Regions from separate parts of the Homo sapiens genome. Here all the other regions are linked to region 1. The links are contacts of gene promoters, found by promoter capture Hi-C in human tissues and cell types (Jung and others, 2019). All regions are on one chromosome and are shown on one strand. Each heading gives the region's core, a stretch centred on a gene start or on the middle of the fragment in contact. The rest is flanking DNA. Distances are from core to core; before and after follow the strand shown. Region 1 holds the start of EPHA4 (EPH receptor A4). Region 2 overlaps LOC105373890 (a long non-coding RNA gene). Region 3 overlaps LOC105373891 (a long non-coding RNA gene). Region 4 has its middle 130 kb from the start of MIR4268. Region 5 overlaps LOC105373893 (a long non-coding RNA gene). Region 6 overlaps LOC105373893 (a long non-coding RNA gene). Region 7 overlaps LOC105373893 (a long non-coding RNA gene).

What was found. The method cuts DNA at HindIII sites, captures the fragments that hold promoters and counts their contacts. A contact is called where the count stands out against the background at its distance.
Region 2: a contact is called between a fragment that was not itself captured here and the fragment with the promoter of EPHA4 in region 1, in 1 of the 25 tissues and cell types used here (mesenchymal stem cells).
Region 3: a contact is called between a fragment that was not itself captured here and the fragment with the promoter of EPHA4 in region 1, in 1 of the 25 tissues and cell types used here (dorsolateral prefrontal cortex).
Region 4: a contact is called between a fragment that was not itself captured here and the fragment with the promoter of EPHA4 in region 1, in 2 of the 25 tissues and cell types used here (H1 embryonic stem cells and IMR-90 fibroblasts).
Region 5: a contact is called between a fragment that was not itself captured here and the fragment with the promoter of EPHA4 in region 1, in 1 of the 25 tissues and cell types used here (dorsolateral prefrontal cortex).
Region 6: a fragment that was not itself captured here is called in contact with the fragment with the promoter of EPHA4 in region 1 in 1 of the 25 tissues and cell types used here (dorsolateral prefrontal cortex).
Region 7: a contact is called between a fragment that was not itself captured here and the fragment with the promoter of EPHA4 in region 1, in 1 of the 25 tissues and cell types used here (lymphoblastoid cells).

Annotation. Positions count from the first base shown.
Region 1 is chr2:221,570,557-221,574,806 of GRCh38, reverse strand. It overlaps EPHA4 (EPH receptor A4), which reads left to right and starts at 2,503. Exons shown (of 18, transcript NM_004438.5): 1 at 2,503-2,649. The coding sequence starts at 2,559. RefSeq lists silencers at 1,038-1,197, 1,248-1,527, 2,128-2,547. The HindIII fragment of the contact is 17,926 bases long and covers 1-4,250 here.
Region 2 is chr2:219,927,134-219,931,383 of GRCh38, reverse strand. The region is part of intron 2 of LOC105373890 (a long non-coding RNA gene); the gene reads right to left. Among named protein-coding and RNA genes, the nearest start is that of MIR4268, 23 kb to the right of the region's middle. The HindIII fragment of the contact is 3,836 bases long and covers 1-3,763 here.
Region 3 is chr2:219,992,974-219,997,223 of GRCh38, reverse strand. All of the region lies in intron 1 of LOC105373891 (a long non-coding RNA gene), which reads right to left. Among named protein-coding and RNA genes, the nearest start is that of MIR4268, 89 kb to the right of the region's middle. The HindIII fragment of the contact is 3,370 bases long and covers 841-4,210 here.
Region 4 is chr2:220,038,172-220,042,421 of GRCh38, reverse strand. No RefSeq gene overlaps it. Among named protein-coding and RNA genes, the nearest start is that of MIR4268, 130 kb to the right of the region's middle. The HindIII fragment of the contact is 4,075 bases long and covers 232-4,250 here.
Region 5 is chr2:220,069,340-220,073,589 of GRCh38, reverse strand. All of the region lies in intron 2 of LOC105373893 (a long non-coding RNA gene), which reads right to left. Among named protein-coding and RNA genes, the nearest start is that of MIR4268, 160 kb to the right of the region's middle. The HindIII fragment of the contact is 4,261 bases long and covers 268-4,250 here.
Region 6 is chr2:220,090,059-220,094,308 of GRCh38, reverse strand. The region is part of intron 2 of LOC105373893 (a long non-coding RNA gene); the gene reads right to left. Among named protein-coding and RNA genes, the nearest start is that of MIR4268, 190 kb to the right of the region's middle. The HindIII fragment of the contact is 7,415 bases long and covers 1-4,250 here.
Region 7 is chr2:220,112,116-220,116,365 of GRCh38, reverse strand. The region is part of intron 2 of LOC105373893 (a long non-coding RNA gene); the gene reads right to left. Among named protein-coding and RNA genes, the nearest start is that of MIR4268, 210 kb to the right of the region's middle. The HindIII fragment of the contact is 6,513 bases long and covers 1-4,250 here.

The DNA of each region.
Region 1 (4,250 bases), core at 1,254-3,753:
GAAAGTCAGTGAATGTACTCTAGCAAATGATGCCTTGCTTTCAGGCAGCTGTGTCTGGAAAGACTTTGTTTAATATTCAATGTGCATATCCTGGGGAAAAAAATGGTACATGTTTTAGAAATTTTACTGTTTATAACAATGCAGGCAGTCAGTTTCCCGTTTCAAACACAGATAGATACATGCAACACTCAAGATCCTGCAGAGAGGCAGCCAGCATCTATTGTTTAAAAAGGTTTCAAAAAGAATTCGGATTGCTCTTTTCTCTTTTGAATCTGTGTGCCAAATGACAGGGACCAATATTCGTCTTCTTTTTCTGTAAAACTCAGAAAGACACATGAAAGAACCCAGAAATGCATTTCTTAAAGGGATTTAGTGCAGTTATTTTAAATAATTTATGCACGCACACACACATACATATATCCCCCGAGTACATATTTTTTCCCTTTTTACTTGTGTGCAATCAGTAGCTACAATGACTGAAATCCACTTCTTTGGACTGTGACATTTAAGCAAATCTTGTATCTAGAAACCGAAATGCCCAGAGTCTCGCACAAGCTGTTCGTCTGGGCCACCAACTCACACAGCCGCCGCCCAGCGCCTCGGCACGCGTGCTCATCTTGTGTAAAAGTAAAAGTTGCTCATGTCATTAGCTCGGCTCTGAGTTTGCATGAGAAACCAGCGCAGCTCTCGAGCCACGGGAGAAAACACGATCTGCTGCGGAGCCCAGTGACCTGAAACTGTAGCAGTGACTCGAGACCTGTCCTCTCCTCGACGTCGCCCTATAACCCTCCCGCTTTATTTAGGATCCGCTTTTCCGAGAGCAGCCACTCAGGCAACCCCCGGAAGGTTTGTTAGGAGTTTCTCCTTGAAACGCTTTCCGATTCCATCTTTTGAAATCCAGCAGGCGAGAGTCACGACAGACTCCAGGACCTCTTGAGCGCTGTCCGCAGCCCCACGGTAGGAGTAGCCCTAGTGCACGAGACTTGGCGGTGGCTGAAAAGCTCGCCCAAACGCACGCACCACCTCTCTGCGGGGTTGCGGATTGCGGGTTGCGGTCTTTGTCCGCTCGCCCTTCCTCCGGGGCCGCACACTCCCGCATCTGGCCGGCAGGTGGCGCGGTTGGCTCACGATGAGCTGCGGCCGGGGCTGGAGAGGCTCCTCCACCTCCCAGCGGCCGCCCGGCCGCCGGGACCCAGGCTCCCCAGGAAAACTCGGCCCTGCTCTGGAGGGAGTCAGAGGAGGGGCGGCCTGGGAAGGGGAAGGGAGGCCTCATTGCTAGGAATCAGTGCCCCTGCCAGCGCCTGGGGAAATGCACCGAGTGGCGTTGGGGACCGGTCCCTGGGACACCGGCTGCGCTGCCTTCGCCGGACCGCTCTTAGGTGGCCGCGTCCACGGCTCGGGCATCGGGAAAAGACCACAGCCCGATGGTGCCAGTGCCCCCGGGGCCGGAGCAGCCGGGCGGGGCTCTGCGGGTCCTCCTGCTCGCCGTCTTCTCCCGGGGCAGGGAGGGCTGCCCCGGCTAGGTCGGAGCGGAGAGTCGCAGCAGCCGCTCCGGGCAGCTTCCCAGTCCCGGTCTGCCTTGTCTGTGCGGCTGCAAGTCCCCGCACCCACACTTAAGCCTTTCACTTCTACCCCACCGCTCCCAGACGGGCTAGGCCCGGTTCCAGGGACTGCCCCCAACCCTGCCCCCGGGAAATCCACAACTGGTTCCCTGCCCAAGGCCATCTCGGGGCGTCCTGGGCCCTGGGCGAGGTCCACGGCGTGTGCAGGGGGACGGGGCCAGCGGGGACTTCCTTACTGCTAGAAAGTCATTCGTTCAGTCTCTGGAGACAGTGACGGAGCCCTGCTGCGGACTGGACGTTGGGGACCAAGTAGGTCCCCGCTCTCCAGGCATCTGGGGAGCCAGGGAAGAAGCGAGTGATAGAGCCACAAAACTCCCCGCAAAGAGTATTTCAGAGGGGGAAGCGCCATAAAGACAAAACAGGGCAAGGTGGCAGAGGGTGGCGGTGGCAGGCGCGAGTCTGCAGCTCAGCCCGGGCGCGCTGGACGCAGACACGTCGACTCTCCTAAAGAAGCAACCGCAGGTCAGCTTAGACTTCTTTTATTTCAATAAAAGAGCGTTTTCCTCCATCTTAAACCGCCCGTGGTGGGAGAAAAGGTTTCCAACCTCTTCTCTGGCTCCCCTCGGTCAATTCCGAGCTTTTCCAAAGTCCCTCCGCCGTCCAGGGGCTCGACCTTCGAGGTAACGTGGGGGATCCCGCTGGCTCCCTCCGGCAGGCGGGGGCGGGGACCGGCCGTGCTCGCCCCCTAGAGCCCCGGGAGACCGCGCGCCCCGTGGAGCCCGGAGGGGGCGGAACCCTGGGGCGGGCCCTGCTCGGTGAAGGCGGGGCTCGGCCGCCCTGTCTGCGCCGCCATTGGCCGCGGGCCCCGGACTGGCGGGCTCACGTCACCGGCCGGGCCCGCCCCCTTGGCAATGTCTTCAGCCCGCTGCTCTCCTAACTTAAGCATTTATTCCACTGGGATAGAAGCGGCAGGAGCAGCGTTGGCACCGGCGAACCATGGCTGGGATTTTCTATTTCGCCCTATTTTCGTGTCTCTTCGGGATTTGCGACGCTGTCACAGGTTCCAGGGTATACCCCGCGAATGAAGGTAAGAGCGGGACGGCCTTTCTGTGGTCGGGGACAGCGAGGGGCCATCGCGGGTGAGGGGTCCTCAGGAGCGCAGGGCCAGGTGGTGCGGGGGGAGCCCAGTGTGAATGGTGCGTCCCGATTCGGGAGAAGGGGGCTGAGGCGAGGGGATCGGCGAAGGGGCAGCGGGGAACCGCCGGACAGCCTGCCCCGAGGCGGTGACCCGTGCACGCGGCGGGTCTGTCCAAGTTTGTAACCAAAGGCCAAAGTTTATCAGCATCCGCCAGAGAGGCCCGCTCGAGGCGCCCTGAGGGGATGCACGGGAGACAACGCCGGGATTTAAAAAAAAAATTACAAGAACCACGTCCTCTCCTGAGCCAGCCCGGGGCGAGGGGAAAACGCAGCCTGGAGCACAGTGAAGGCTTGGTGCTCCCGGATTCTAGCGAAAGCCTTTCGAGCTCTGGTTTCTGCAAAGTTTCCCGAGCCCTGCGCTTCTCGGGACCGGGCTGCGGGGCCTGCTCCGCAGCGCAGCGGTCGTGGCGCCGCTCGTCAGGCGCCAGTGACCTGATTTCTAGCACCCGGAGTCAGACACCTTTCTCCTCGCCAAGCCCAGCGCCCCGAGGGTGCGATTGCGGGCCTGAGGGGCCCGAGCTCTTCGCCCCGCAGACTTGGGGAACCCGCCGGCAAGTTGAACGCAGTCGAGTTTTAGCTTTTCGCCCCAGAATTGCACACAGTTTAGAGCTAACGTGCGGGGTCGACGGGACCCGTCTGGGTGCTCAGTTTTCTGTGCATCCGTTCGGACGTGCTGGGAGGATTGTATGTGCCTGTGTGTCTGTGTCGGGAGGTGGGGCGGGGCGGGGGGGCGGTGATCATTTAGTTTCTGAGAAACCCAGGGAGAGGCGAACTGTGTGTGTGTGTGTGTGTATGTGTGGTGTGTGTGTGCATGTCTGCGTGTGTGTGCATGTCTGCATGTGTGGTGTGTGTGCATGTCTGCGTGTGTGTGCATGTCTGCGTGTGTGTGCCTGTGTGTGTGCGCGCGCGTGCAACTGCGTGTATGTAGGTGCGCGAATGCCTGCGTGGAAGCGGACGCGGAGGATTGTATGTCTGTGCGCAGATGTCCTGAGTGTGTGCGCGTGTGTTCGAGTGTATGCTCGTGCTCTGTTCCAGCGTATGCTGGTGCTCTGGCCTGCGTGCATCTAGTCTCACATCCGTCTCTCATTCTTCTCCTTTCCGGCATCCATCTATCTATCCGTCCGTCCATCCGTCTATCTATCCATCCATGCATCCATCCATCTCTCCGTGCATCCGTCCGTCCGTCCATGCATCCATCCATAATGCATCCATCCATATATCTGTCCGTCCGTCCGTCCATCCATCCCTCCATCCATCCACCCATTCATCTATCCATCCATCCACCCATCCATCCATCCATTCATCTTTCCATCTCTCCAGACATCCGTCCATCCATCCCTGTGTAATCTATCGTTTTCTCTGTTCCGAAGGAGGGAGCCAAAAACCAACTTAGCCTTGGCTGGGCAGCCGGTACCCGGAGCCCTCCAGACGGAGGCTCTGAGAGATTTATACACCTGCCCACAGACATCGCTTGGGAGGAAAGGGGCCCTC
Region 2 (4,250 bases), core at 596-3,095, 1.6 Mb after region 1:
TACTAAAAATCCTCAATGCATTCTAAAAATTAGACGTGATCAGGCCACATTCTCTGAATGCAACACAATAAAACTGGAAATTAATAACAAATGTGATATGTTTGCATATTTGTCCCTTCCAAATATCATGTTGAAATGCAATTCCCAGTGTTGGAGGTGGAGCCTGGTGGGAGGTGTTTGGGTCATGGGGACAGATCCTTCATGAATGGCTTGGTGCCCTCCCCGTGGTAATGAGTGAGTTCTCACTCTGAGTTCACACAAGAGCTGGTTGTTTAAAAGAGCCTGGCATCACTCTTGCTGCCTCTCTTGCCATGTGATATGCCTGTTCCCACCTCACCTTCTGCCATGAATGGAAGCTCCCTGAGCTTCCTGAGGCCTCACCAGCAGATTTCTGCAATATTGTATAATATTTTTGTTTTTAAATTTATTTTTCTTCATACACACATATATATATACACACACACATATTTATAGGATATGGTTAAAACTGTGCTTTCATATAATATATAACCACATATATTTGCTACTATTTTAATAGAAGGTAAGATAATAAAGTTTTCAACTCAAGAAACTAAAGAAATGGCAAAATGGAACTCAAGCAGGGGAAGAAGATAATAAAGATAAATAAATACATAAATGAATTAAAAATAGAAAAGCAAAGTTGATAAATGATACCAAGAATTGGTTCCTTGAAAATTCAGTAAAATAGATAAATCTCTGAATAAGCTAATCAATAAACATAAAAAGCAAAATCATAAGTAAATGCATTTAGAAATGAAAGATGATAGTGGAATACGGAGAAGATTTTTAAATTATAAGTAAAAAACGTACCCGGTATGTAAACATATTAGTAAATTTCAATGAAATGGATAACTTTTGGCAATGGCAGATGAGGGTGAAGAATAACAAATTGAATCAAGAAGAAGTTGTTTTATTTTTAATTACTTCAATAAAAAATCAAGTGATCCTCTAGGTAAGTTATAAATTTTCAAGTATCCATTGTTTTCAGACTTTTTGAAACCAGTTATGTGGTGTTCAATCCAAGATTCTTAACCGTGAAGGCCTTTTAAACTCCCTGATTTTGCCCACATGCTGTGGACACCAGCATGAAAGTGATTTTCTGTAACGTAATTGCACCAGGGAGAAAGCCCAAGTGATGCCACACGATTTAGAACAACAGAGGTTTCCAATCCATAACCTTGGCATCTTCCTAAATCTTTTTATAATTGTCCTTGTCTTGCCTTGGAATACATATTCGGCTCCTCATGCATGGGGAGGCAGGCAGCATGTTTAATCATAGTATAACTGGTCAGAACTGCTTTGTAAATGTAAGTGTGAATCCCATTGTCTCTTCTTCTTCTAATCAATCATCCAAATCTCCACAGGCCTTATTAGCAGGGAGTCTAATGTCTCCCTTTTAAGACTCCTCTCACCCTTTGATAATCCACACCGGCTGTGACCTTTTCTCCGGGGCCGGTGGTTACACCTCTTTCTAGGAACATCAGCCATTCCCTCAGTACTCAGCTCCTCTGAGGGAGCCTCCTAACTGGGCCCCCCAAATCTAGCTCTAAGTGCTTTGGTTTCCATCCAGCTGTAAACCACGTGTAGTGACCACATCCAGCTGCCACATGAGCTTAGAGAGCTCAGTGAAGGAGGAACCAGGATCTACCAACACAGAGTCCGGGGGCTCCTTTCCTCCCCTAGGATCTATTGCCCAGACTTTCCCTTCTGAGCCCTAAAAATACAAAGAGCCTAACTAGATAACATCTCCCCCAAACAAAGGGGCTACTCTTCTAAACTGGTCCCCTGGCACCTTCTTCCTAACTAACGCTCTGAGACTTTCCAGGTGATTCCAGAGCCCAGGTGGTCACCTGCTCTTCTGAGGGCCACCTTCATGGGTTTTTTGGCATAGGAAAAGATGCAACCCGCAAGTGTACCTATGCCCCATTAAAAGTCACTCCACATCCCTATCCAGTCACACCTGCCATCTTATCCCCATGTATAGGTTAGTAATTTGAAGCTCAAAGACTTTTGCCTAAGGTCACTTGGCTAAGCTTCCTTTCCTAGATTTCTCTCTTCCTCACTAAGCCCTTGTCCTCTTATTTCCCTCCATCTCTTCTTTTCCCCAGTCAACTTCCTCTTCTCTATCTTTGCCTTCATCAACAAATTTATTGAGAACAAATACTAATCCAATATTGCAGCAGGACACAGATGGTAAAGGAATAAGACATTTATCCACGATCTCACAAAGTTTGTAATCTAGTTATAAAAACAAGATTAGCAAATGACATGAAGCAGCCTTAAATAATTGGATACTAATTTTATTTCTATGTCTCATTCTTTCTCCACCACAAACTCCACTCTTTCCCTTGTCTCTTGTGTTAGAAAAGGTTGACTCTTTTTTTATATTTCATTTTATATATATATATATATAGTGTGTGTGTGTGTGTGTGTGTGTAATCACAAAGGCTAAAATATACACTGCAGTTTATAGAACAATAATAAAATGACATCTATGTACTTTCCATTATACTTAAGCAGCAAAAACATTACCAGTCAATGATTGCCTCTTAGTAGGTAAGATAATTTATTTCTGTGGGTGTTTCAGAATAGACAGGATTTGGAAGACTGAGCATTGTCCCAATTAGAAGAGGTATACACACACAGACACACACACAAAAGAAAAGAAACAGTGCAGTCAAATCTATGTATAGCCCTTCAGTTCAGAGACAGGGTATGGAGCTGATGGCCAAGAGTAACAGGGCCTTGATCATAATATACTGTGAGAGTTCAAAGAATTTGAGGGCTAATAAAGAGAAAAATAACCCCCAGTGAGTTTTACTGGGAGACATTTGGACAAGGTTGCGTTAGAGGAGAAGCCCTTCATATCATGGGACTGTCCAGAAGGAACTACTGCTCTGAAGAGGAAGAGAACCAGGGAACTCTTGGGAGAGAGGGGGACCAGAAGGGGGAGCAAAGAGGAGGGTTGCGTCCAGGAGATGTTCCTCAGCAGGATGGTGGAGTGTGTCTAGGTCAGAGAACGTGGAAGGATGGGAGCTGCTTGGATCCTGTAAGCATAAGGCCCTGCCTTTCAAAGGCCAGCAGGTGGGAGGTGAGGTTTTGCAGGATATGCAAAGCAAGCAGGCCCTAAGTGGCTAAAAATCTGCTTGTTTGGGCTATTTTTAAAATAATTGGATGTGTGAAAAACTGAGTTTGGCACCAATAGGCTTTTGATCTAAGAAGTCTCAGCCGGAAGTGAAGAAATAAACAACCCAGGGGCCAATATCCAGAGACCATCTTTGGCCCATTTATGTAACACCTGCTGAGTATGTGCCCATCACCCCTCTTGGAAGAGGCCCCTATCACGTGCCCTTGGTTGCTGCCTCCATACTAACCCCTCTCCCACCCACAGAGCCCAGTCTATCAGCCACCAGATGATGCTGGGGCGAGAGGGGAACTCTTATTGAAGGGGGTAACAGCAGCAGACCTGCCCAACAGCTCCAAGGATGCCCTGTGTATCCAGGGCAGGACAGGACTCTCTCCCTGTCTCAGACCATCAGGGTTTGCTGACCATAGGTAAACTAATAGTCCTTCCAGGTATCTCTAAGAATCAAAAATAGACTCTTCTATTCACACACACACACACACACACACACACACACACACACACCTGTCTACAGACTCTTTTTGCAAACTATAGACAAATAAAGAGGCTAAACATCCAAAAACTAACAGTTAACAATAAGATTCTCCTCATATCATTCAAGGTTGAAATGTAGAAATAATGGTGAATTTTTCCAAAACTTTCTTTTGAAATAGGGCATTTATAAGCTGATGCTATCCGATGCTAATTGGTAAGGAAAAAAATTCAGCCATAAAGCATTTAATAGAATGCTTGGTAATCAGCATATTTCTTAAAAGAATGTTTCTTTTGACAGAATCAGATACAAGGAAATTTTTAAAATGAGAAGTATCAGTTCAGCCAGTAGCCCCGATGAGACAAGATTATTCCTCTAATGTACTTACTAGGAGTTAGCTGTCTAATGGAACTTCTGTGGCAACCCTTCGAAGAAAATTGCATGGTTTTACAGGGGATACTCTCAAATAGCTTATCCTGATAACGGCTTAAAAAGAGCCAACACCAGAGAAAGGCTAGACCTCCAAGGATGAGACCATCTCCCTGCAGAAAGTGAGCTAGAGAAGTGAGACAATTATCTGAATAATTTCATCTCACCTTTCCTCCCTCATCT
Region 3 (4,250 bases), core at 1,276-3,775, 1.6 Mb after region 1:
ATCTCTACCAATGTTTATATTTATTTTTACTACTTTTGTTGTCTGTCTTCCCCTTTGGACTTAAAGTCCAATGATAGCAAGGCCTTTGTTTTGTTCTTTACGGGATTCCAGCACCTAGAGAGTTGGCTGGCATTAAGGAGGCACTCGGTAATATTTGCCGAAGGAACCATTTATTCATTCAAATAAATAAAGATGTCAGGTGGTAGCAATGGCTATCGAGCAAACTAAAGCAGAGTAAAGGGGATGGGGTGCTAAGAAAATGAGAAGGTTGCTATTTCTGATAAGGTGGTCAGGGTGGGCTCTCTGCTAATGATACTTAAGCAGAAACCTGAAGAAGTAAGAAAATGAGCCGCTCGGAGATAAAGGGAGAAAATGTTTGAGATTGAACAGCTGATGCAAAGGCCAAGCAAAGCCTTGGCATGTTTACAGAGGACAGTGGGCTAAAACAGAGGGCAAGAGCAGAAGGTAATAAGGCCATGTGGTGTCAGGGCCACATCACCTAGAGAGGAGGTCAGCGAATCACGGCCTGTGGGCCAAATCTAACCTATCACCCACTTTTATAAGTAAAGTTTTGTTGGGACATAGCCATGCTTATTTGTTCACATGTTGTGGCTGCTTTCCTGCTGCAGCTGAGCTGAGTAGTAGCCACAGACGCCAATGGTCCACAAAGCCAAAAGTATTTACCATCTGCCCCTTTGCCAAAAAAAAAATGCCAGCCCCTCCCTTGATCACTGTAGGCCACTGTGAGGACTTCAGCTTTTTCTCTAAAGAACATGAGACACCATTAGAGGAGTGACATGAGCAGACTCACAATTTAGGAGGATTGGGATGGCTGCTGAGCAAAGAATAAATTGGAGGGGTGGAAGCAGGGAAATCAATTAGGAGGTGAAAAATGAAGGTGGTTGGGACTGGAAATGTAATCAGATCAGAAGATGCACAAAGTCTAGCCATTCTCACAGCCTGGAGTGAGCAGGGTGTGTTTTGCCCTAATAGATTTTGGCCCAAAGCATCTGGGTTTGTGGGAGGGAGTTGGGGAGTCATCAAACTGAAAGTAGGATGACTTTCATCCAAAACTGAAAGTAGGCAGTTTTTTCCAAGGCAGGAAAGAAGCCACAGCAATGGTGCTAAAGGTTGCAACGAGCTAATACCATTTTCCAGTGATCTCCTTCTGGCTGCATAGTCTGGGCTTGGGCTGGGGTCCAGACAAGACCCTGGTTCACTTCCTGGTACCTTTGGTGCCTCATGGCTTCCCTTACTAAGGCAGACACTCAAATGATTTGAGGGGGCTTGGGTACAGGCCCAGACAGAGGCGTGGGCCAGTGCGTGGAGTGACAACACTGATGAAAGATTCCAGAAGTCAAAAGGAGGTGACAACACAGACCAAAGATCGTAGAAGTCAAAAGGAAGAGAAAAGGAGGTGGTGCCAACAGGAGATGCTCAAAAAGAAAGTGTAAGAGGGTCTCACGTTCTTACAATCAGCCCATGAACTACCAAGACCAGGGACGGGGTTTCGCTTCCCACCATTGCCCTCTGCACACCACACACGCAGGCTGCCCTGTAAATGAGACATGTTTTGCCTGTCAGCTCTGTTCTTGATGTTCTTTTAACCAGACTTCTAACACACACAGTTATTTGAGAAGGGCTCGGTGAGATCATGAGGAAGTCTAAGAAGTCTCAAGAGAAAGGGAATAAAAGAGGAGTTTGGGAGTCTCAGAGCCCTGCACTTAAACTTCATAACTATAACTTATTAGCTGTGTGACCCACTGCAAGTTATTTAACCTCTTTGTCCCTCAATTCCATCACTTGGTAAACAAAGAGGATGAGACAGCAGAGTTGTTATGAGGATTGCAAATAATGGATAAGAAGCCCCTGGCCCATATCAGCAGCTATTATCGAAGGGGTAATATATTATTATATTATAGAAGGAGTAAAATTATAGAAGGAGTAAGCTTCATTTACCAGATGTATAATCCTGAGAAAAATAAATAGCCTTTCCCAGCTTCATAGTTTCCCTGTCTGTAAAATGAAGACGATATCACCTTTACCCTAGAGTCTGGGGATTCAATTCACTCAGAGCAAACTGCAGATATAAAGCACTTAGTGGAGTGTTAGCATAGAACAGACACTCCAGGCAGCCCAGACACCTTTGTTATTTGTGAAAGGTCCTCTGAAGTCAAGACCTTCATCAAGAGGGTAGGAGGGAGACTGACAGAGCAAGCAAGAGACCTCAGGTTCACAACAGGCCAAGGCCAGAGACGATCAAAGGTCAAGGGACCAGGACTGGTAGAGATGTAAGGGTGCCCACCCAACACAGAGCAGCCATGCCCAGTTGAATCCACGTCAACCCAGAACATGAATGGCTCCAATGGGCTTCGGTCCTGAATGGATCTTTCCTTCCCTTGCAAGATCCAGGGTTGTGGGGTGGTAGAGAACAAAGGAGTTGTGGTAGATGACCAGGAATCCCTGGGAGGAAGAGGGAGAAATTCTCCTTCCTTGTTTGCTCCTACTTCAGGCTTCCTCACACCACCGACAGGTAAGGGTTGGCAAGCCCTGGGCATTGCAAGGACAACACAGAGCAGGTGTCTGTGAATTCAAAAGTATTAAGGAATCTGAAGACTAGGAAGGATATATAAGGTCACCTGGGATTGCAGCAGCACAGTGGACAAATCTTTTACTCTCTCTGAGCCTGTTTCTTCATCTGTAAAATGGGGATAAATGGTCCCTGTCTGTTTCATAAGTTTAAATAGTTATGACATTTAGCTATGGTTTGAGAAAAAGGAACTAAGTAATCAAGACCATCTCCATTCAGTCCATTACAAGTTCCATCTCAGAGACAGGAAGATGGAAAAGGAAAGAGAAGGGAATGTGTTTAGATGCCTCCCAAACTCCCGGCCAGCCACAGAGTCAGTGCAACAGCCCAGATTGCCGACCCCAACTCTAGGCATCAGACCTGCCTTCTCCATCATCAAAGGGTGCCTATTAGAGTAGGAGGCTGTGTTGGGACCCTGAACTGCCCCAGTGCATCCTAAAAGAGCAGTTTAGTTGGACCTAATGGGTGCTCTAAGGAGATGTGAGAGGAGACATCATATGGCTGATGAAGGACACACAGCAATGAGCAAGGCAGGAGTGATTAGAAGGCTCAGTCTTCCTGCCTCTGGCCCTCACTGCCAACACCTTGCCAATATCTGAACCCCAAATGGGCCTGAAATTGGCAGAGTCTGCTGAGCCCCTAATGCCTTATAGCACTTATCTAATCGTCCACCATAACATGCTTATGGACCACACAACGAGAGCTCCAAAACGTCCTGCTTTATTAAAGGAGTGAATGAATGAATGACAAAATGAACACTAAATTTTCAAATGCTTATGTTTGATTTCTGCCAACCTCAACTAATACCCGTGTCATGAAAATGACACTCTGGGGCTGAGCGCTGTGGCTCATGCCTGTAATCCCAGCACTTTGGGAGGTTGAGGCAGGCAGATTGCTTGAGCCCAGGAGTTTGAGACCAGCCTTTGTTTTTGGTAGAAACCCCTTCTCTACCAAAAACAAACAAAAAATTACCCCAGTGTGGTGGCAAGCACCTGTAGTCCCAGCTACTCAGGAGGCTGAGGTGGGAAGATCACTTGATCCTGGGAGGCAGACGTTGCAGTGAGTAAAGATTGTGCCACTGCACTCCTGCCTGGGTGACAGAGCGAGACCTTGTCTCAAAAAAAAATTAAATTAAAATTAAAAATAGAAATGAGAGTGACACTTTGTGCCATCTGAGCTGTAGACTAGAAAGTCCCAAAGGACAGATGTCACCTGGGATCAACCCAACCTCTTCTCTTCTCCATAAAATGACAGTGGCAATGGCTTCTGAGTTTACTTCACAAGTAATTGAGAGAGTCAAATAAGAATGGGCATGAACATGCTTTAAATGTAATAGGATGTACAAGGACCTGAAGTTTTCAGAAGCTTCCATGGACCCATTTGAGGTCAAAGGGAAGAACATTACATGTTGGGGTAAAAGGAGGGAGCTTTGATTCTCCAAGCCAGCAAGGCCTTGAATGGTACACAGCCTGCTCCCATGCATTCTTCTCCAGAACTTCATCTCTTAGGCTAAGGAAGGGAGTGTCACAGGAATAGATATAGCAGGAACAGCAGCAGCAGCAGCAGAAAAAAAAAGTTATATTTAATGAGAGCTTACTATATCTAGGGCTCCATGCTAAATGCCCCTCATCATTATCTCATTAAGTCTCCAAAACATCTG
Region 4 (4,250 bases), core at 1,020-3,519, 1.5 Mb after region 1:
GAGAATCAGAGTGTAACAGACTAGCCTGCAGGAAATGGTAATGTTTCGAAGCCATATTCTGAAATCTCACTATAAAAACCCTGATTAAAGTGAATAGTTCATGTGGCAAAATCCCAGAGTACAAAGCTGAGAAATAAGTATCAACTCTGCCCCGCGCTTTCTTTACATTTGTTATATCATTAGGACTATAAAGTAAATAGCTACTGTTCTCACTGATAACTAAGTAAAGCCTAATTGTGTGGTTTTAGTCTCAATTAAAATTGCTGAAATTGTGGAAGTCTCTCTAACACTCTCACAGATAAATAACACTATAAATGCACAGCCTTTAAAGTGCTTCAGATTGGGACTGGGAACTATTTAAGATTTCCTTAGCTTCCTGGAAATCTCTGCACATAGATCTTCGGTTTTAGGTATTTTCATGACACTAAAATTTACCCTTCTGCTTTGTCTGACCTTCACATAATTTCCCTATTTGTTAAAGGACATTTGAATTTCAAGACAACATACAATTCTTTAAATGACAATAGCATGCAATTTCAGCATCCAACCCACATCTGCCACAAGCCTTTTGTCTTCAATCAAGTTCGGAAGAATCTGCTTGAGTTCACAGTGCTTTCTAGGAGGAATTGGCAAATCATAAACAAGATCTCCCTCGAGAAATTCTCCGTGGACCCTCATTCCCACCCCCACTCTTTTGTGCTTCAGTGCTTTCGAACCTGTCTGCTAGAATGTGGGAGAATCATCTGCCTGCAAGTGAAGGCAGCATTTTTCACAGAAACATGCACGGTCTGGTTTCCTTGTTCCTGCCGCCAATGCCAGAGCGAAGCCTCCTCCTCGTTAAGTAATGTCTGCCTTTGAGGGGATTGCTTTTCTCCAGGTGGTCGAGATGGAAACTGCCTTCACACACAGACTGATAAACACTGTGTTACAAATCTCATGTGGAGTCACAGTCAACTCTTCCTGGAGACCCTGTTTTAGGGCTTTGCAAAGTGAAGGACCGTCCATTACAGCCGGGCATTTATGCCTTCAAAATGCTCATTTCTTCTTATGAGACAATAAAATACTTCCTGCAGCAACAGCAGGTGAGCACAGAAAGCATCTTAAATATCTGACCTGAAGTGCTAAAGATGCTTAATAATCTTTAAAGTTACCAACAATATTGTTTCCTCCTGTTACCAGGATGTTGTAAAATGTCCTAATTAGTCTTTATGATAATGCCAACACCTCCACAGCACATAAAAAGGACTTTTAATTTTTAAAAGGACAACTCTGGTTGGTTTGATTTTTATCTCTAATTGGCCTATAATGTCTATATCCCTCTGGCACTCCAGACAGGCAAACATTAATTTAACAAGAAACTCATACACCACGGGAGACCAGAGAATCGGGTCTGGAAAAGAAGGTTCCAGTGTTCAGGACACAGAATTGGCTCCACTCTCTTTTACCTCCTAGAAGGTGCTAAACAAGCTTGTCTGCTGCTCAAAGGGGGACCTTCTAAGGCAGCAGCTTCCCAAGGACATTCTAAGGACCTCAGCCAAGTCTCTGCTGTGGCAGGACCAGGATTTGGCAAATCCCAGCGACCCAACCCAGGAAAAGCCCCACAGGAGACCCAGAAGGAGCAAGGCAATGGACCAAGCTGAGAAACTGAGGCTAGGAGAAAAGAGGAGAGGTTGGTACAGCCCTTGTTCTGTACCAAGGGCTCTGTGGTCTTAGACGGGTCACTTATCCTCCCTGGGCTTGCTTTCTCAGCAATAAAACAAAAAGGATTACCTAAAAAGAATATCCAAAGTGCTTTCCAGCTTTCACACGCCAAGATTTACTAGTAAGTGCGGCTCTGCCAATAGCACAGATGATGAGCCCAGGTTCTCCGGCAGTGGTAACACAGAGACAGGCTCAGGCCACTGGGAACCAGTAACCCTCCTGCAACATACAACACCAAACACTGTCACAGCCCAGCTCCGCACTGCCCAGGACATTCTAGAGCAGCCCAGAACAGAAGCCAAGTGAAGGTTGGGCACACTACAGGTTTCAGGATTGATTCTCCCCAGCCTCTGCCTAAAGAAATATATTCTGGATTTCAGGAGATTCCGCTGAATGATCCTGATTATGTTGCTCCTGAAGTGGGAAGCTATAACAGTAGACCCTCCTGAGTCAAAGAAGCATCACCTTTGCAATGAAGGATAGAAAATCTTCTGTGTGTTAAAAATTGCTTTTTCAAGTCACTCCTCCAGATATATCTGAGGGTTGATATGTGTTTGGGAGGCCTCAAGGGTTTTTGTTGCAATGGAGCCATAGCAGGAGGTCACCACATACTGACCCCAGATGATTCCAGTTGTTGACTAATGAGGCTCAACTGGCTGCCCCACTTCCACCCCACCCCCTTTCAAGCCCCATTCTCCTCAATGAGCTGCTGGCAAAGAAAGCAGGAGCTGAATTGAATAACATTGCTGTTGAGAGGCTTTTTTCTTCTAAAACCAAGAAAACCATGACAATCTTTTATTTATATATCCAATGCTTCGATTTAAAAGCAATAAGTGCAGTGGTGCTGCCATTTCCCTAGCCACCCTCTCTCATAATGGCATCATTGCCAAGCATCATGCTCAGCTCATCAGCAAGTCCAAGGAGGGCAGGAATAAGCCCAGGGAAGTTGCTGTCTTACAGGCTGGCTACTCAAAATGAAAGGTGCTCAAGCTTGATGTTCTGCCATTGAGAGAGTGGACTCCTGGTCAGTCTCTCCAAGTATCCGTTAAATCAATCATGCTGTTAAACACATTAACACCACACACATACATATTTTTAACTCCAGTACTGTGAAGTCTGAAACAAAACACAAATAAGGTAAGGAAACTTCGAGCCAATTTTTTACTCAAACCGCAACAAGGCCTCCACTCAACTGTTCATCTGTTCTACTCCATTGATATTTCTCCCCTCATTCTCTTAGCCTCAGTCCTAATTAATTACAAGGTAGGAGGAAGATAGAAAAATGCCTTACAGCAGTAGTCAAGGCTAAAATTTTGGTTTGTATAAACTTTGAATAACACTCAAACTTAACCTTTTCCTGCTGAACGTTACTTGTTTTTTTCTTCCTTTTCAGGCCATCTGGTACCCATCAATTCTAAATTCACTTTCTTATGTTCTGTACAGGGTGGGATCTAATCACTACTTTAAAATAGAATTTAGGATATGTTGATTTGACTTCCTCTCAGCCACAAAGCTTGGAGAGAAACAATATTTCTCATACAGAAATGCTGACGTCTTAAAGTGGTAGGATCATTACAGTCCTCTGTGAAAATAAATCAGATTACGTGCTACCTGTGGGGTTATGTAGGAATCCTTAAATTATGAAAGACCAATTTGCATAACCATTGTCCACTAACCTTTAAGTCACCTTGGAGGAGAATTGCAAAGAATGATATGCTCACTTTCCATCCTGGCTCGGTGGGGTAGCATGGTATACTGGGTAGATTGGGGCTTTGGAGAATCACAGATCTGGATTTATTTCCCACCTCTACCATTTACTATGTGCTGTTAGTCAAGTCGCGGAGCCTCAATTTCTTTACTCATAAAATGGGAGTAATAATAACTTGTAGGGTTTTTGTGAGGGGTAAAAAGATGTAATTAGATAGATATAGACATATAAAACAGCACAAAATAGAAGAAAATCAATAAATGATACTATTATTATTATTATTATCAAAGGCAAAATAAAAACAAAGTAAAAGCATACTCATCTAAGAATGTAATGATATTTAGGATTTATCCAAGAGCTTGGTAGTGATATAAACAACTTCCATAAGGAAACCTCATATTAAACTGATCTATTTGCTCACCTTTCCAGAACACAGAGCTGCCTCTCACATCTTCCCAATACAGATCTCAGAGAGAAAGAAAGAAATCAACTTATCCACAAATTCCTGTATCATCCTTAGGAAATGGGCAACAAATGTGCAGCCCCCATGAGCATGACTGTCTAAAGATCTACAAGTCAAATATTCACAGACATAGCCCTGCTGGTCATTACTAGTAGGACTTAAATTTGCCCAGTTTCCTCTTTAGTAACACCCTGTTACAACTCAACTGCCTCTTCCACTCCTTCTGGTATGGTATCTCCATCTGACTGGCCCAGCCTTGGCCATGGATCCCAGACTGGTGCTCAGTTTGATCCTCTCCATAGCACTCCCCACTCCATAGTCTAATCCTGCCAGCAGACTTTATGTCAGTCAACAACTGGTTAGGAATAGGACTCTATG
Region 5 (4,250 bases), core at 1,149-3,648, 1.5 Mb after region 1:
TCAAAAGGGAAGATTGTTGGGAGGCCGAGGCGGGTGGATCACTTGAGGTCAGGAGTTCAAGACCAGCCTGGCCAACATGGTGAAACCCCCATCTCTACTAAAAATACAAAAATTAGCCAGGCATGGTGGCATGCACCTGTAGTCCTAGATACTCTGGAGGATGAGGCAGGAGAATCGTTTGAACCTTGGAGGCCAAGGTTGCAGTGAGCCGATATTGCACCACTGCGCTCCAGCCTGGGTGACAGAGCAAGACTCCATCTCAAAAAAAAAAAAAAAAAAAAAAAGGAAGATTGGCAAATACCAGAGAACCATTAAAACCATGAACCATGCTACTGATTAACTGAGGCTTGCCTTGATTCTTCTGAGGATTAAAAGAATTGAAAAGAGGATGTAATTTAAAACATAATTTTAAATCCACCCTGCCTGCAGTCCTCTCCAGCCCACCAGTGTGGCCTGTCCTTTGGTTAAGGATGCCTGCACTTCGGTGACAACCACACCATACCACCCTGCGGCCTCGGGTTGTATTCCACCTCTCCCCCTTGACTGTTTCTGTTTATGCTGTGCAGAGACACTAGATCCTGTCACACGACGGAATTGGCAGTGGTCACCCTTTCCAGATAAACGCATGAATGAAGAGGCAGTTTTCTCTTTTCTTCCTCGGTGGTGGCTCTCATGCCCTAAAACAATGAAATGTACAAAGGTGAGACATGTTAAACTACTCTTCAGCTCAAACATCTTACTTGTTTCCTGCTCCCTATAAAACAAGATGTGATATAAATCATTCTAACATTTAAGGCCCTTCACCACCTGATTTCAGCACGCTTTTTACAGAATCAAAGTCCTTCAGAGTTAGGATTAGATCTGGAGACCTTCCATTCCCATGGAGTCTCCAGCCAGGCCTCCAGTACTTTGGAATCAACCAGGGGCACCAAATCCACCAGAGATAAGTGCTTCTCAGCCTAGCTGCCCCTGGGAATCACTTGGTGAGCCTTGCAAATTCCCAAAGCCTACATTGCTCCCAAGACCCATCGAATCAGAATCTCTGGAGTTGGAACTGAGGCATTCCTAGTTTTAAAAACAAGTCAAATAATTCCACTGTGCAGCAAGAGAACCATGACCCTGGGACCACACTTCATATCTACGGAAACATGACATTCACAGGATGGACCCAGGAGTCTGTATTTTAAATAAACACTCGGGGAATTGTCATATAAGATCAGATTTGAGAACTAGGACTAGTTCAGCTCCCATAGTCTATAGATTAAGAATCAGAAGCCCCATACTAAATCACAGAGCCTGCATCGAAAACTAGTTAGTAGCAAAACTAAAAGCAGAATCCATATGTCCAGATTCCCTGTCCCATGCTCCTTCCATGATGCTATTCTGCTTTCTAACCTTTCCTCACTCCAAGTTTCCCATATATCTTCTGCTCCAGCCAGGCCCATCTGTCCATTGACCCCTAAATACATTGTGGCTTCTGTCATGTTGGTACCACTGACCCCACCTGGAATAGTCTCACCATTCCTTCCAGCCTAACTCGGTTCTAGGCTTGGCTTTCTGTAAGGTTGGTTCCATTTCCTGTGTAAGCTTTCTTAGCTGCCACTGCTGCACACTCCACCTCTCCCTTCCCTCGATCCCTGTAGCACTTACAGTCACAGCTTAGCATTGAGTTATTATGTGGTAACACAGGCTAGAAACTGCCAGAGGCAAGAGACCATGGCTTATTCCCTTCTCACATCCGCCCAGTGCACTCAGAATAAACACTCAGCAAATGCTCCTCCATTCCCAGACAGAAAGGCTCAAGACTCATTCACGTATACCTTGTTGAAAATCACCTTTTAGGCCCCTTTCACATATCTGTTGCAAAGAGCAAAAAAGAATTACTTTCCGGGTTTCCTTTCTCCTATTTCCTCTTAAAAGAATGGCCTTGGGTTTATGTGAATTTGATGTAAATTTGATGCCCAGTAAATTGATGCCCAGAGTACCTAACATTTCAAGAGATCAGCATGACATATGCATAGATATTATGCGTCTTTTGTGTGTTGTCATTCAGCAAATGTCAATGGCTTTTCAGAATAATAGACAATCCTGAGCTATTGCCACACCTGCATATGTACTGCCAAAAACCACTCAGTTCTAGAAATATGCAGAAAATCTCCCTAATGCCTCAGGAAATGAAGGGACATACAAATATGGCAGCTCTCATCATTTACCTCATCAGCACTTAGCTCAATTACCATCTTCAAATCAAAAGGCACTGAAGCTTCCAAACCTGGAGTTCGACTTTAAGGTTCCTCATCAAGAAAATTCTCCAGTTTCTCAATGGTTTTTATTAGAGCCATAGTAAGCTAATGGATATTTTGTGTGCATAAAAAGTGACCAACCACGCCTGTAATCTCAGCACTTTGGGAGGCCGAGGCAGGCGGATCACGAGGTCAGGAGATCGAGACCATCCTGGCTAACACGGTGAAACCCCGTCTCTATTTAAAAAAATACAAAAAATGAGCCGGGAGTGGTAGTGGGCACCTGTAGTCCCAGCTACTCGGAAGGCTAAGCCAGGAGAATCATTTGAACCTGGGAAGCGGAGGTTGCAGTGAGCCGAGATTGCGCCACTGCACTCCAGCCTGGGCGACAGAGCGAGACTCTGTCTCAAAAAAAAAGAGAAAGAAAAAGTGATCAAGATATAAATGACCTTGTGAGTGGTTTACATGGAAGATTCTATGCTGGTAGAAATCTATAATGGTGCGGTCACTTTGAAAAATAATCTGTCAGTTCTTCAAAAGGTTAAACATAGAGTTACCCTATGATCCAGCAAGTCCATTCCTAGGTATAACCCAGGAGAAATAAAAACATACGCCTACAGAAAAAAAAATACATAAATATTCATAGCAGCATTATTCATAATAGCAAAAAAATGAAAACAACATAAATTTCCATCAACTGATGAATGGTTAAGTAACATGTGGTATAGCCATACAATAGAATATTCAGCCATAGTAAGAAATGAAGTACAGACACATGCTGTAATATGGATGAACTTTGAAAGCATTATGCTAAGTGAAAGAAGCCAGTGACAAAGGGCTGCCTGTTATATTATTCCATTCATATGAAATAGGCAAACTCACATAGGCAGAAAGTTTATTAGTGGTTGTCTAGGGCTGAAGGGGAGCAAGGGGTTGGGGAGAACTAGGGAGTGGCTGCTATGGGTACAGAGTTTCTTTTGGGGGAGATGAGAATTTTCTAAAAATTGTGGTAACAGTTGCATACCTGAATATGCTAAAAACCATTGAATTATATCCTTTAAAGGAGTGAATTGTAATGTATATGAGTTATGTCTTAATAGAGTTGTTACTTTTTTTTTTTTTTGAGATAGAGTTTTGCTTTTCTTGCCCAGGCTGGAGTGCAGTGGCACTATCTCGGCTCACTGCAACCTCTGCCTCCCCAGTTCAAGCAATTCTCCTGCCTCAGCCTCCCGAGTAGCTGGGACTACAGGTGCGCACCACGACACCCAGCTAATTTATATATATACATATTATTATTATTATTTATTTATTTTTTTTAGTAGAGATGGGGTTTCACCATGTTGGGCAGGATGGTCTCAATCTCTTGACCTCATGATCCGCCCACCTCAGCCTCCCAAAGTGCTGGAATTACAGACATAAGCCACCACGCCTGGGCCCCAAAGTTGTTACATTTTTTAAAGTTTAAAGAAAATTGAAAATTCCAATTCTTCTTTGAACCTCTTAGTAGCAATATAATCTCGAGCAACTTGTTTAACCTCTCTAGGCTTCTATTTCCTCATCAGTAAAATGTACCTGCATATTGTAAGGATTAAATAAAATAATCCATATGGAGGGTTTAAACTTATAGAAAGCCCTCCATAACTGTAGCTATTTTTTCTGTGATTCCCTAATTCCTGGAGGAAGAGTGTAAATCTAGGAGCCTCCTGCCACAAATCTAACTGAATTCTATATATATATAAAAAAAAAAGCAGCAGCCATAACATCAGAAAAGGACTCAGAAATTAGAGGAAATCTTCCCCAGAATCATTCTTTCCCTTGGTCCGATGGCCCAACCCCACCTTCTCCTTGCCTCCACCCCCATCACCAATGTGAAAAAAAAAAAGACTTAAAAGATCCCTTTCCCTGTCTGCATCATTTCCACTCAGTGAACTGCCATTTCAGCTGCTGCAGTGACATTCCACAACTTCTGGAGTCTTGGAAGAACTAACCAGGAGAAGCAATGTGCAT
Region 6 (4,250 bases), core at 1,113-3,612, 1.5 Mb after region 1:
ACCTGCAGGCATCATCATCTCCCCATCTTTTATTCTGTTCACAGTGATTATTCTGATCACTCCCCAAAATTATACTGTTTGTGTGTTAACTTGTTTATTGTCTGTTTCTTCCCGGTAAAATGTAGGTTCCAAGAGAGTAAAGATCTTATTTTCAGAGTTCATCACTGTATCTTCCAGTTAAGAACAGTTCCTGGCACATAGTATATTCTCAATGAATATTTTACTGAATGAATATCAAATCAAAAAGATGAAGACACACAGCAATAAGGGTGGATCTGTATAGTGCTTGGTGAATAAAAATACAAGGAACAGGCTGGGCATCGTGGCTCACACTGTACTTCCAGCACTTCGGGAGGCCAAGGTGGGCAGATCACTCGAGGCCAGGAGTTTGAGACTACCCTGGGTAACATGGCAAAACCCTGTCTCTACTAAAAATACAAAAATTAGCCAGGAGTAATGGTGCACGACTGTAGTCCAGCTGCTAGGGAAGCTGAGGCATGAGAATCGCTTGAACCCAGGAGGTGAAGGTTACAGTGAGCCAAGATCACACCACTGCACTCCAGCCTGGGTGATAGAAAGAGACTCAATCTGGAAAAAAAAAAAAAAAAGCAAGAAACAGAATGAGATCTATAAAAAAATCCATTTATGTAGATTAGAAATGCTGGTATGTAAGGCATTAATACATTTGCAAGGCATTAAACCATTGACTGTGTTGAGGACAGGAGAGGACTGAAACATAGGAATTTTTTAAGTGACACACATACAAGCAAGAAAGAAGTCACTACTCATCATGCATTGATTTTGATCATAGCCATGACCTGAGATATAGAAAAAAAGAAGAGGGAATATTAGAGGTACTTAATATCAGACTCACACTGGGTTACTAATTTATATATAAGTTTAGATAAATAGATGACAGATATTGGATGGTATAGATAATAAATAGAAAGATAAATAGATGAAAAGATAGATTAGCTAGACAAACAGACAATAGAGAGAGAGAGAGAGAGAGAGAGAAATAGGTAGGTAGGTAGGTAGACAGACAGACAGACTACTTGGTAAACTGTTTATGCCATGATATGGATTTGCTTCTCCTCCCTTGACATTTTGGTAGTTATAACAGAGTTCCAAATAAAATTCTTCCTCCAGGTACCATAGAGGAGAGAAAAACAAAATGCTTGAACAAGTGGGCATGAAAGTCAAGATTCTGCTCCCCAGAGAGAGCAACCCAGAGAAACCACCCTCCTAGGGGAGGAACAGAGCCTCGTCCTGCTTTGGTTCCACACCCAGATCACTGCGTGCCCTTCAGGAACTTATTCAGACCTACGTTCCTTTATTTATCAAACTGTTTCAACTGATTTCTTTTTATGGTGCCCAAATGTTAGGGAGCATTTTAGGAACATGAAACCAAAATGGTGTGCAGGGATCCCCGGGACACAGTGTTAGGAAGCGGATGGGAGCCGATGATTAGACATGATGTGCAAACCACACAGGGGTCCCTGTAAGCCACAGCTGGCTGTGTAGCATAGATACAAATAACCCCAGACTCAAAGAATGTTAGAGCAAGATGAAGTCTTTAGCAATCTAGGCAGACCCCCCTCCCCTCCTGGTTTGCACAGTCTTAGAGAAACTTGCATTTACACTGAGTAAATGGCAAAGCCAGGGTGGGAACTCTATTCTCCTGACTGCTTCTCTCCAGTGCTCATTCCTGGAGCCTGAGGATAACCCTGTGTTTCCACATAGTCCCACTGCTGATGTGCGTAACGAGGATGAGAAGCCAGTTTGCCTCGCCCGCCCCAAAGGAAGTTGTGTGCTATACTTTTGAAATACATTAAGTTTTTTTCACCTGAAGTGAGTCCTTTCCTTTTTTATCTATTTCCCAATGTTCTAGACATGCAATATTTTTACTAGTAATATATACTGGCTTATGTACAGTGACTCTCAAAATATATTTCTTGGTTCTACTTTTTGATTCTAAAAGTATTAACAAGTAAATATACATATATATGTCTACACACATATGGGCATCTATATCTATATAAATGCATATACTTTCAAATTTCCACATTTATATACAGTGCAATCAGGACTGCATTCTATAGTTATTACCGCCCCACGCTCTCAACCATCCTTATTTACTTTTGATGTAGAAAGGAAAGGAAACAAAAAGGAAACTCTCCACTCTTAAGATAACTTGCTGGTGACCCCGGGTAAATGACAGCCAAGCAAGACTTCAAGGAACTTGTTACTTACAGCTTGAATTTCAGGCAAACATCTTCCTGCATTTCTAATGAAAACCGGATTCTTCTCCCTTCTTTTGAAGTGCTCTTTGGGAATTGTTTGAGTGTTCTTTGCAATCTTTTATACCCAGCCTAAGGACTCTGACAAACTCTCTCTTTCCCTTCAAAGGCTTGTTAACTATGTGATGAATACACCTGTCACTTCCAATTCTAACCTTACTTTCTGTTGTGATGGCTGTAGAATTTGGTATCTATGGCAACTTTTCAGTGGCTCAACATCGATTAAAAAATGATTGGCTTATCAGGGTTGCTTGGTTGATTGATGGAAATGATCAGTTGCTCAAAATAATCATGACAGATAAAGTCTCCTAATTAGCTAGTATTTGCAAGATTCAGAAATTTTAGATTTCTTTTTTTTTTTTATTATTTCCATGCAAAAGTAACTGGGATCTAATTCTACTAAAGTAGTTACAAGTTAATTTGGACTGCCTCAATGAAGGGAACTTGATTCAATTCACATATTTTATTTCGCAGCCAAATGGCACATTTTGTCTATTTTAGAAAATTTACTCCTTGATTTTCTAATATCTCAAGGTCAGAGGCCAATTTATGTGTTTTAAAAAAATTAACTTTGGTACTAAAAAAAAAAAATAGCCAGGTTTAGAGCATTTGCAAATGAATTCTAAAGATTTTTATTCTAATCCTTACCCAAGTGCGTAAAACAAGGAAAGACAGTATTGTATGGGAGAAATGTTAACTACAGCCTGACCTTCCCAGGAAATTTAAATGCTTTATCTTTGAATAGAACATTTTAAATCAACATCTTCAAAAGTATAGTGATATATCAGTGATTGTATACAAGATAAATTTAGGTAGTCCACAAACTTTCTTAATAACCAAGTAGTTATTTATTTTACTGTGACACTGCTGTTGTTCAAACATTTTTTAAAAAGTGGCAACTTCATATGGTTTTGCTTAATATTTTATCTTTAAAAATAACTGTATTCACTTTCTAGGACTGCTATGAAAATGTACCACAAATTAGGCAGCTCAAATAAACAAAAATCTATTGGTTCACAGGTCTGGATGCTAAGAATTTGAAATCAAGGTGACAGCAGGCCATGCTTCCTCTGAAACCTGAAGGGGAATCTTTCCTTGTCTTTTCCAGGCTTTGGCATCTGCCTGCAATCTTTGGCATTAATTGGCTCACAGATGCGTAACTCTAAATCTCTGACTTTGTCATCACATGGCATTCTCCGTCTTCTTATAAGGGCACCAGTCACATTGGATCGGGGACCCATCCTACTTCAGTATGACCCCATCTTAACTAATTACATCTACAATGACCCTACTTCCAAATAAAGTCAAATTTGGAGGTAGTGGAGGTTAGGACTTCAACATATAAATTTTGGGGGGACACCATTCAACTAATTAACAATAACTAGCCCATTAAGTCTGTGATTTCACAGATAATATTGCTTAGTATGAGGCTAGAACGGCTTTTGTTTTTAAGTTACAGTTGATGCTTTTAAAACTAAATAGGGATGGTATGTGAACATGGCAAAATTTGTCCACATCGCACTGAGAATGACAGAAGCTGGAGGGTGAGCTTAACCGTAAAACCAGCCATAAATGATCCCCTCCCTGTTTCCTCATCCCTTTACAATGTTCCCTTGCAGCAATTCCCATCAAGAAGTGGAGTCTGTTTCTCTACCCCTTAATTCTGGCTGCCCTCATAGTTTGCTTTGGCCAGATTAGCAAGTGTGCCCTAAGGGGAAGTTTGAAAAATGCTTGCTCATTGGGCTTGCCTTCTCTCCCAGGCTGCCCTGCTGAAAGATGAGAGAGATGACACGAAGCAGAATTGAGACAACGAGCAAATGATCAGCAGCCCCTAAGCTGACCCAGCTGCAGACTCCAGACACAGACTTTTGCCCCAGACAAGACTAGCCAGCCCCGTGTCCACATATAGCAGAGCCATCTAGCTGAACCCAGCTGAAATTGTCAATCTAC
Region 7 (4,250 bases), core at 1,080-3,579, 1.5 Mb after region 1:
CATACAGAGCTGGAAGCCATGAACAGTTGACAATCTTACCCAAACCCCCTTTGCATCCTGCTGCAGCAGCTGGACATGCTAGCTTCTAGATTTCCCTGTATACTCTTACCCATTTGCTGTACCAGAGCAGGGGAATAACTGTTCTCTGATCCTTCAACTTCCTTTTTTGGACCCTTTCCTGCTCAGCTCTTCCCATAATGTGCAAGGACCAATTTCTACAATAAAATCCTTATTCCATAATACATTGTATTTCTGCTTCCCTGATTGACTCTGACTGATACAGCTATCGGCAGTTTGGTGTGCATCCTGTCACTTCATTTTCAATACAGAGGTATATACCCAGATATTTCTCTGTCATTTTTCTTTAGATGTGATCAGATTTTAAGAGAGAGAGAGAGAGAGAGAGAGAGTGTGTGTGTGTGTGTATGTGTGTGTGTTTTAAACTTAACAACACCTTGGTGAGATTTCTGTGGCAAGACACATAAATTAACCTCATTTTTATGGCTATATAATATTCCATTATATGTAAGATTCATTTAACCATCCCCATATTGATAAACAGCTAAGTTGTATCCAATTTTCTACAACAACAAATAACACTGCAATGAACTTTTTAGATATACTTCTTTATGGATATTATGCAAACCTTTAGGGTTAGGGTTGATTCCTAGTGGTGGAATAATCAGTTGTATATATTTTTAATGTCTATAGATATTACCAAATTGCTTTCCAAAAGACTGCATTTTCCAAAATGTTCTTGCCATGGCAACAATTTTGCCCTTGTTCACTAAAAAGGGCTCTTCACTCTGGTTTCCCTGGAGATCCATGGCTTGACAGTGCTCTGCTTGAAGGGCAGAGGGCAGTGGACACTTCAAGGCAAGGTTGTGGACATTTGGAAAGCAAGAGGTATGATCGTGAAAAGCATCATGCTTAGAAGAACTATACAACTGGCTGGTTAAAGACTAAAAGAAGAAAACCCAAGAGAACTGGCATCCACGTGAAATGGGTAGAATGAAGTTAATAGTAGGAGGACAGGACTGCTTTCTTTGTGTGATTTCAGAGATTTCCCAGCTTCCCCCAAATCACTGCTCATGCATGCATCCACGGATATCCATGCACACAGACACATACATACAAGCATGCACCAGAATCTGCTGCTGCAGCTTAAACTTTTTTCAAATATTTTCATCCCACAAATAGACCTAAGGTTCAAATAAAAATAATCCATGTCAATAAGTAGTAGTTACGTGTGGGAACTTTGCTAAGTATTTTACATGCCTTATGTCAACCAAGGTAGGTGCTATTTCCATTTCACAAAGGAGAAAACTGAGGTTCAGAAAGACGAAGCCAAAGAACTAATGAGTTGCAGAGTATGGATTTGAAGTCAGCTCTGCCTGAGCAAACGATCTTTTACCACCGCACTGCCTCCCTGGAAAAAGGTAATGAAGCCTCAACTCCACAGCGAGGTATAGATCGCTTCTGCAGGACTCCTTTCTGAGAGCAGCTTTTCCTGGGGGAAAGGGCATTGGGTGTTGCAAAAGACCAGCTAGAGAAAGAAGAGAAGGTAGACAAAGAGGACACTGAGGGCATAAGTCCAAGAGTCTTCTACTTCCTGGGCCAGTGAAAAGGAGACAAAGTTAGATGAGCTCCAAGAGGAATGAGGGAGATGACCTGAGCAAGTGGAAGGTTGACTTTCCCAATTGGAGTGGCAACTGCTGATTCTTGTTTTAAGAGCATGGCAGAAAACTGGAAGTGGTACCAATGAGTCATTTCTGCCAACTCCCTCCTCCTAGTTATCGTATTGCTCCAGGACACATGGGGCCTACCCCATGGCAGGTGATTTACATACTGGAAAATAATGTGATCCCCACACAATTAGATGATTCCAGAGGCCAAGACTGACAGCCTTGGAACAAAGAGCTGGGGAAGAAGCACAGGGGCTAATGGATGATGAGGTGCCAGCTCAGGGGCAGGGCAGAGCAGGGTGGGTTGTGGGATCATCAAGGAAACTAGCGACATGGACGAGAGGCTTCAGGAGGAAGCACAGGGTACAACACAGGGAAGAGTGCCAAGGAAAAATGCACCACCTCCCCCTTGCAGATCCAACAAAAGATTGTGTGTTCGGGGCCAGGGACAGCAAGGAACACTGTACAAATTCCTGAGAACCATGGAAATCCTAAGAAAATCACTTAAGCAGTCTACCCTTTCCAGGAGGCCCACAGAATAAATTGCTTCACAGGGTTCTATCCCACTCTAAAAAGTCCTGCCCGTTTCAAGATAAAGAGATAACATGCCCCCTGGGAATTTATTATGGGACAAAGAGGGAAAGCAAAAGTGTAAACACAGCATCAAGGGCTTTGAAGTGCCAGCAACAGGGTACCACTGCACTGGGGTGCTGTGGGCATGGCAGCACACTCAGGGAGGTGACGTGAAAGAGCTGGCTCATGGCATTTTAACTGGAGTGGCGGCCTGTCCTGTTGCTGTCCACCTCAGGGCCCATGCAAGGCCTTGATGAAGGGCTGAAACGGGAGGCAGATGAATTAGCCAACCAAGCCTTCATCTCTACAGAGACCTGTCGATGCCAAGAGATGAGCCGTTCCAGCCACAGCCACAGCCACAATTATTTGCGCTAAACTCGGAGTTAAAGAAGACAAAGGGGACCGGGCCTGATGGAATGGAGAATATTAGGAGTGGTGCTATTTATCATACAGAATGCTCAAAAGCCACCTAACTAGAAGTAATGATACAGCGCTGATGGAATATTATACAGCTATTAAGGCTGAGAGTTATGAAGACTAAGTAGCAATTTAACATGGAAAGTTATCATAAGATGTAGCATCCACTGATGAGTACAAATACACTCTCACACTCATGTGGATAAATATCACAAGAGAAGATCTCAAAGTGGCAGCAGTCAGACCCAGGGGACTGTAGGATTAGGGGTGATTTTTTTCCTCTACTTTCAATGTTTTCCATATGTCAATAGACTGTCATTACTATAATGTGGGAAAATGAAGACAGAAAGTGATCTGGCCATGCACTGGGGTACCCAGGATGAACCTAGATCTCTATACAGTGTTGGTCCAAAGTGAATGTGAGTACCAGATGCCACACAGGCACCCAGCATGAACAAATACACACAACACAAACACACGTACCACACACAACACACATACCTAATCACACAACACACATATAACATAGATGCCACATGCAACACACACATATACATGCCATACATACACACAACACACACCATACATGCAATACACACAGACACACAACACACACATACCACATGCACCACAGACCCAATACACTCAACACACATCATACATACAACACACACATACCACATACACCCCCAACATACCCCACAGGGGCATATTCATGTGCTTTTTTTGCCAAGTGCATTCCACATGGCTGTCAGTTCCTGTAAGAATTTTGCTCTCAGGGATTCTGGTTAGCCAGAAGTTTCCTATCCAAGTAGGGCATGCCGTGAACCAACAGGGAGCCCTAAGCCACTTCCCACTCCACAGATTATTTACTTGAGCACAGTGTCCCGGACTTGCCAATGGACTGGGCATATAGTGAGAATCCTGACGACTACTTCTAGAAAAGCCACGTCCTTGGTTTGGGAAGACCCAGCCCTCACGTGTGCAATGCAGGAGAACACTCCTTGTTTCCCTTGCACAGACTGACTCCCACAGCTTTATTTGCTCCAAGCAGGTGAGCTTATACATGTGAAGTCAGTTCGTAATGGTAGTGTCTCATTTATGTGGCTGGTATCAGGCTTGCTGGAGTCTTCCAACATTCAACATTAGGCATGGTACATTGCATGTATATAAATCAAATTAACATACACTGTCACTGCCCGGTTGAGCAGCTGTATTCTTTGTGTTAAATTTCATAGTTAAAATGAAACACTTTTCCATTACTAGATTGCAGCTCCGCTGGGCAACTGCAACGGTTACCTGCCAGAATTAAGCCCCGTAATGCCAGCTCTGTCTCAAAATGGCAACTGCAAAGTGGATTTACAAAGTGACTGAGGAGTTGCTAATTGCCTCCAGAATAAAACATTGATGTTGATTCAAATCACTGAAGCTGAAGTTTCTATAAACTCAACACTGTAAGTAAGAATATGCCTGGCTCAGTTGGTTAGAGCAGGATGCTGTGAAGGCCAAGATTAAAGTTCAACGTGTGGCCTAATTAACTGGCTCCATTTATGGTCAGAAAGTCCCCACTCTCTT